Regions from separate parts of the Homo sapiens genome. Here region 2 is linked to region 1. The links are contacts of gene promoters, found by promoter capture Hi-C in human tissues and cell types (Jung and others, 2019). All regions are on one chromosome and are shown on one strand. Each heading gives the region's core, a stretch centred on a gene start or on the middle of the fragment in contact. The rest is flanking DNA. Distances are from core to core; before and after follow the strand shown.

Region 1 (3,317 bases), core at 537-3,036:
ATTATTTTAATAATTAGTCTTCCATCTTTTGCTCAGTCAATATAGTGAAAGGCTTGATCTTTCAAAGAATCTATGTTTATTTATTCTACTGCTCTCCAACCTTTTATTTTATTGATTTATGCTCTAATTATGCTCTTTATTATTTCTTTCCTTCTGCTAGCTTTGGATTTAGTCTTTTTTTGTTTTCTTCCACTGCCTTTAGGTATAGAGTGCGGATATTGATTTGAGATTTTTTCTTAAAATGTAGTTGTTTATATCCATACATTTTCCTTTGAACTCTACTTTCACTGCATTCAATAAGTTTTGGTATGTTTTGTTTTTATTTTAATTTGTCTCAAGATATTTTATAATTTTGCTTGTAATTTATTTTTTCACTCACTGGTAGTTGAAGACTGTATTGTTTAATTTCCACATTTTCATGAATTTTCCAGTTTTCACTTATTTATCTGTTGTTTCTTCCATTGTGGTTGTAAATTATATTTTGTATGATTTCAAACTTTTAAAAATGATTAGGACATATTTTGTGGATGAAGATATGGCCTATCCTAGAGAAAGTTCCACATAACTTGAAAAGAATGTATATTCTGCTGTTGTTGGGATGGACTGTTCTGTATATGTGTATTAGCTCTCAGTGGCTTCTACTGTTGTTTAAGTCTTGTATTTCTCATGAAGCTTCTGTCTGGTTTTTCTATCCATTAATTAAAATGAGGTATTGAAGTGTCCAACTGTGACTATAGAACTGTGGGTTTATCCTTTCAATCCTGTTAATTATTTCAGCTTTACTGAGGTGTAATAGAGAAATAAAAATTGTACATGTGATGCGTTTATATGCACATTCTGAAATGATTACCAAAATGAAGTCAATGAACATGTTAATTACCTCACAGAATAGTTACCTTTTCGTGTGCATGCGTGGGATAAGAAAACTTAACTCTATCCCCTGTGACTGCAGAGTGGCCATTTCAGCTGCTCCAGGCTCAGGCAGAGGAAGACCAGGGCAGGTGGCACCACCAGGGGGGCCCTCAGGCCTGGCGCGCACGCATTCCAGAGGCCACCCAGACCATGCTCCGCTGCCTGGGCGCCCAAGCTGCAGTCGCCCTCTGTGTGCAGGCAGCAGCCTCTAGGCAACTCCTGGGCCCGCCCGCACTCCCCACATCTCGGAAGCAGGGCCAGATGTCCCTGTGGCTGCGGCCGAGCCAGGCGGTCTGCCCTGCAGCAGCTGCACGGGGGCGGGAACCGGCCCTCAGCCCCATCCCCGGTGGCTGCAGAGGGCCCCTGGCTAGAGGTCTCGAGCTCTGGCAGAGGAGGAGCCGGGAGGGGGCAGGGTCTGGCGGGCTCTCAGGCCAGGGGCACCCGCGATCCAGAGGCCGCCCAGGCCATGCTCCACCACCTGGGCGCCCAGCTACAGGCGCCGGGCAACTCCCAAGCTGGCTGGCGCGCCCAGCCTCGCAGAACCGGGGCTAGATGTCGCCGTGGCTGCGGCCAAGCCAGGCGGTCTGCCCGGCGGCGGCTGCACCGGGGCAGGAACCGACCCTCAGCCCCATCCCCGCGGACGGTCCCTGGAGCGGCCCCGATCTCTCTTCGGAGAAGAGGGGCGGGAGTCACGGCCAGGCGGGAAGGGATGCGCGCCTGAGATTCCGGAACGTCCCGCGCCAGCCCAGGAGAACCCGCAAGCCAGCGGCGCCTGAGCCCGAGCTGCAGTCACCCTCTGCGGGCCACGCGAGCTCGAGGGCGCCTTCCGGAGTCCGGGCTGGCGCTGAGCTGTAGGCGCGCGCCTAACCGCTTTACTGGGCTCACTCTATCGAGAGGTCGGAGGCTGCGAGTGTCGCTGCTGAAGGCTGTAGTGGACCGGGCTGGATCGCGGATTCTGAGCTACATCGCGGGTTTGGGGGTGCATCTTGGATTTAGGGGTGGATCGCTGGGTGGGGAGGGGGATCTCGAATTTGGAGCTGGGTGGGGGTGGAAAGGCCACGAGGAGCCGCGGCGTCTCAGGAGCGGGTGGTGGGCATCTGAGAAGTCGCCACCATGAGGAAGCTCCTCAGTTTTGGGAGACGCCTGGGCCAGGCGCTCCTGAGCTCCATGGACCAAGAGTATGCGGGTCGGGGGTACCACATTCGGGACTGGGAACTGCGGAAGATCCACAGGGCGGCCATCAAGGGCGACGCCGCAGAGGTGGAGCACTGCCTGACGCGCAGGTTCCGGGACTTGGACGTCCGCGACAGAAAAGACAGGTAGCGGGGGCTCAGCCCTCGGTGGGAGGGGGCCCCCAGGCCCGGTTTCCCCGCACCGCCTGAGGCGGGGTCGTCGGAGTTCGCCGGGACCCTGGGAGCCGCGGAGCCAAATGGAGCCTCAGCTGCTTTCCATCGCTGGGAATTTCCCGCCTGTAGCGCTTGGTGGATAATTGGAGTGATTTAACTCACAAAGTTAAGCATATCTACGTTTAAAACATGGAGCCATATACATGATAGGGAGGTGCCTAATGAGAACTCATTCCCATGTCAAAAATACCATGAGCCATTTTCAGTAGGCGAAGAGTTCTCAGATAAAACCCTGTGTCGGTTTTACATCCAAATCCACCTAGGTAGATAGGTTCTTTACTGGGGCTTCTTAGAGGGACACTTGGAAGTGGGAGGTGGGTTCCTTGAATGAGAAGACTCAGTTTTCTCAAAATGTGAGCTCTTAATATGTTTATCAGTTTTACATAAACCGAATGAAAATATCAAGGTTTTATCATTTTTGCATGACACTTGCTGTCTGTCTTACCATTGTGATGACATTTTAAAATGTTTATGATGGAGTGAAAAACGACTTGCTCCTCTAGATATCAAAACGTGCTATTAATTCCCACAATTAATTATTTACTAACAGCTACAAACACATATAAATAAATGGAACAGAATAGGAAATCCAAAAACACTGAAATATATGTAAGATATATACATAGGGATTGATAATGGTAACATTTCAGATGAGTAGGAAAGGACGAGTTATTAATAAAATGCCTGCTGTGTGAAGAAAACTAATGAAATTTTATGTCACAAAAATGAGTTCCTGATGGAATACAGACTGAAATTTTTACATATGCAAAATTAGAAAAATACCAGAAGAAAACACAAAGACTTATTTATACAGGTACATTTTACGTTAACAGTGGCCTTCCTAAGAATGACCTCACAAGCAGGCATTCTGAAGGTTGATTTAGCAAACTAAAATTAAAATCCCCTGTGTATCAGAAAAAAATTAACAAAAGATAACACACTTGAAAAATATTTACTATATATATTTTTACTAATATATAAAAATATATATTCAGATGA
Region 2 (3,317 bases), core at 611-3,110, 240 kb before region 1:
GAGTGGGTATTTTGATTCTATGGTTCCCTCAGTATTACATCTTGACTTGTAATCAATTATGAATATTTCTTGATATTTAATGTATAGGACATTTATTTATACTCAATAAATATTTTTCAAAAGGATATAATTTTAATAATATCACTTCAGCTTAAAACCTCTACTGCGGAAACCAAATTTAATAGAATTTTAATGTCATTTCAGCCTATAACTCCACTACAGAAACCAAATTAACCAGTAGCATTGTGAGGAAAGAGCAAGGAACAATCTGGGCTTGGGCCCTGGGTCTACCATTTACTAACTACTGAGTAGTCTATTCAACCTCTCTAACCTTCTGTTTCCTTATTAGTAAAATCATGCTTAACTCACAGAGCTTTTGTGAGGAATAATTGAGGTAATGGTCATAAGTACCTTGTTAACTGCAAGGGGCTATTCTTATATGAGGGATTGTTAACAATAAAAAAGAAACTGCTTCATTCTTTTCTTGGAAGGTGCCTGGAGTACTACAGCAAGTTCAAACTCCTGCCCAATTTCAGGGTCTTTAATGATCCTGTCCTCCCTTCCTCATTCAACTTGTTGCCAACAGCATGGCCCCTCCAGCCTAGCTGGGTGCCTCACAGTGCTATGTGCACCTGACTCTCATGTGTCTGCAGATCAAACCAATAAACATTTAGGAACACCAGCTTTGTAGAAGTCTCTGTACCAGCCCAGGGGTTACCAAGTTCCTCTCTTCAGGAGTTCTTGTCTAGTTACAAGTGGAGATGAGATAACGTATGTAACCCTCTCCTATCTCCAACCTCACCTTCTCAAGAAGCCTTCCAGAGGGAGCAAACATTATAGTATTCATCATTACCTTCTTGAAACCTTTCTTGGCTTTTCTGTGAGTTCTGTGTTTTCTTCTAATCTGGCCCACTTACTCTCTTATATGGATACCTCTTTCTTAGCCCCTTGAATATTTCTTCCATTAGAGTTCCAATCTGTATTCTACTTGAGAAATCTCACACCCATGATATCAACTATTACCTACACACTAATGACTCAAAATGACTGTCACTAGCCTAGACTTCTTATCCTTATTTTCAATTCTGGGCATTTCCACTTAAATGCCCCATCGTTACCTAGAATCTAACATATCCAAATTAAGCTCATTATCTTGGGGTTCACTGTCAGCAAACATTTCTCGTTGATTTCTCGTCTTGCTTAGTGTTACCAGTGATTCATATATTGCCCATTTTAGTGGGTGATATTTAGCCCTTTAGCTAGACCACATTAGTGCATTGGATATGAGTGAGCAATCATTCTACCTAAATCTCTACTCTCTTGGGTTTTGTGATAGTACTCTCCGGTTCTCCTGTTCCTCTAACTATTCCCTCTAAGGCTTCTTTCTGAAATCCTCAACTCTCTAACTGTAATGTTACTGCTCCTCTGGATTCTAGCTTTTACCCCCCAGACTTCTTTCTCTGTTTACTTACATTTAGTGATCTCAGCTATTCTCATGGCTTTAACTGCTAACTTCCAAATCTATACTTCTATCCCTGAACTTGCCCCTGAGTTTCAGAATCTTATTTATATCCAGCTGTTTGCCTAACAAATATTTGGATGTTCCAGAAGCCCACAAGCACCTCACATTCAAATAGCTGAAACAGCCTATCACCTTTCCTCAGACCTGAATCTCCTGCTTCTGTTTTCCCTGTCTCATGATGGGAGATGTGAGACAGGGAAACCATTGTCTCATGATGGGAGGCTGTGAGGCTAATGGAATTATTATTCTCCTATCATTTAAAACAGAAAGCGCTTGAGTTGTCCTTGATGCCTACATTTTGCCTACACAGTCAATTATCCTTAAACCCTAATCCCTGTTTCTCAAATCTAACTCCTCCTCTCCTTCTCTCAACTCTCGCTGGCCTAGATGTCTCTCACATAGTCTTTTGGAATGTCTTCTCTTCTCGCATAGTTTCACTTCCTTGAGTACACTGATCACATATAGCTACTCTTACCTTTCTAAAATATAAATCTGACTTGAATTCTTTAATGTCCTCTAATACTTCCACCGGGGCATAAAAAGCTGCCAATGACCTGGCCTCTGCCTATCTGTAATGGTTTATTGCCTAGTCTTTTCAGAAAGCATTTCCTTTCTTTCAAGGGAACTGCTCCCCCATTTCAACTGTGCGATTATTAGGAACATGCCAATTTTAGAGTAGTACTGTCCTTACCCTTCCAAGCTATGGAAGTGTGTATGTGGTCACGCTGTGTCTATCAGAGTCCATAACTCACATTTTCTAAATAGAAAGTAGGGGAAGTGCTACTCTTTGTCAGTATGAGAGATTGAAGCCAGAGGGGAGCCAAGATGAGAGACAGACTGAAAGATGTCCATGGCACTCAGCTCTGAATTCTGATCCTTGACATTCCAAGTCTCTACAACTCTTCGTTCTGTGAGGTATTTGAGGATTCTGCAAATAAACTTAACCCCCTTTTCTGCTTAAAGTAGTTGGCATTGGGTTCCTGTCACTTGCCAGTAAGAGACAGAATAATTGCTCTGCAGCTTGTGTCATGTCACACTTTTCAATTTTGTGATCTAGTAATTGTTCTGCATCTGGTCCCCCCACATCCACCATATAGCCATGATTCCTTGCCTCTGTTCATGGTTTCTCCTACCTGAAGCTTCCTTATGTCTTTGTCATTCTGCTAATTCTTCCTGTATTGGGGAAAGGCCAAAGGGCATGCCCTGGTCTGCATCAATACCAGTGAATTAAAGGAAAGTGGAAGGAGTGAGTCCTGTATTAGAAAGCCCTAGGTACCATAAAGCCTGTGATCATCACTCCTATAGCTACCACCAGACAACCTCACTGGTCAATATTTCACCTGTTAACTACTAGGAAAGAGCAGAATTGAGTGCAGGGGGTCCTAGGTTTTAATCTGTCAGTTCTGAGAGTTTAGCAGGAATGGGGAAGGAGATTGATATGATTCTGTATAGAAAAAGTTTGGCACTTCTATCATCCATATCCCTTAGCTTTCCTTTTGTGTTTTCTTATAGTTATGTCACCAAGAGAGTTATTAAAAATATTGATGTCTGGGTCCTACCCCCATAGATTCTGATATAATAGATCTGGATACAGTGTGGGCATTTGGATTTTTAAAAGCTCCCCCAAGTACTTAAGTGTATCCAGAGTTAACTGCTGCTCTGTGGTGCCTGATCAGTCTGAACCTATTTTCATGGTTAAGCATTCTGGACTGTTACCATCAATTTCTGCAGTGAAGGAGTAGGCAATGATTGCCCTAAGGTAAAGTTGTTCGTCCACGGAATAAATTGGGAAGTA

The links. Contacts are between HindIII fragments. The study calls those that stand out against the background at their distance.
Region 2: a contact is called between a fragment that was not itself captured here and the fragment with the promoter of ANKRD18B in region 1, in 1 of the 25 tissues and cell types used here (thymus).

What each region holds. Positions count from the first base shown.
Region 1 is chr9:33,522,465-33,525,781 of GRCh38, forward strand. ANKRD18B (ankyrin repeat domain 18B) reads left to right here and starts at 1,787. Exons shown (of 19, transcript NM_001393611.1): 1 at 1,787-2,231. The coding sequence starts at 2,026. RefSeq lists an enhancer at 1,154-1,203. The HindIII fragment of the contact is 14,531 bases long and covers 1-3,317 here.
Region 2 is chr9:33,281,389-33,284,705 of GRCh38, forward strand. It overlaps CHMP5 (charged multivesicular body protein 5), which reads left to right. Exons shown (of 8, transcript NM_016410.6): 8 at 1-682. Among named protein-coding and RNA genes, the nearest start is that of NFX1, 7.5 kb to the right of the region's middle. The HindIII fragment of the contact is 7,030 bases long and covers 1-3,317 here.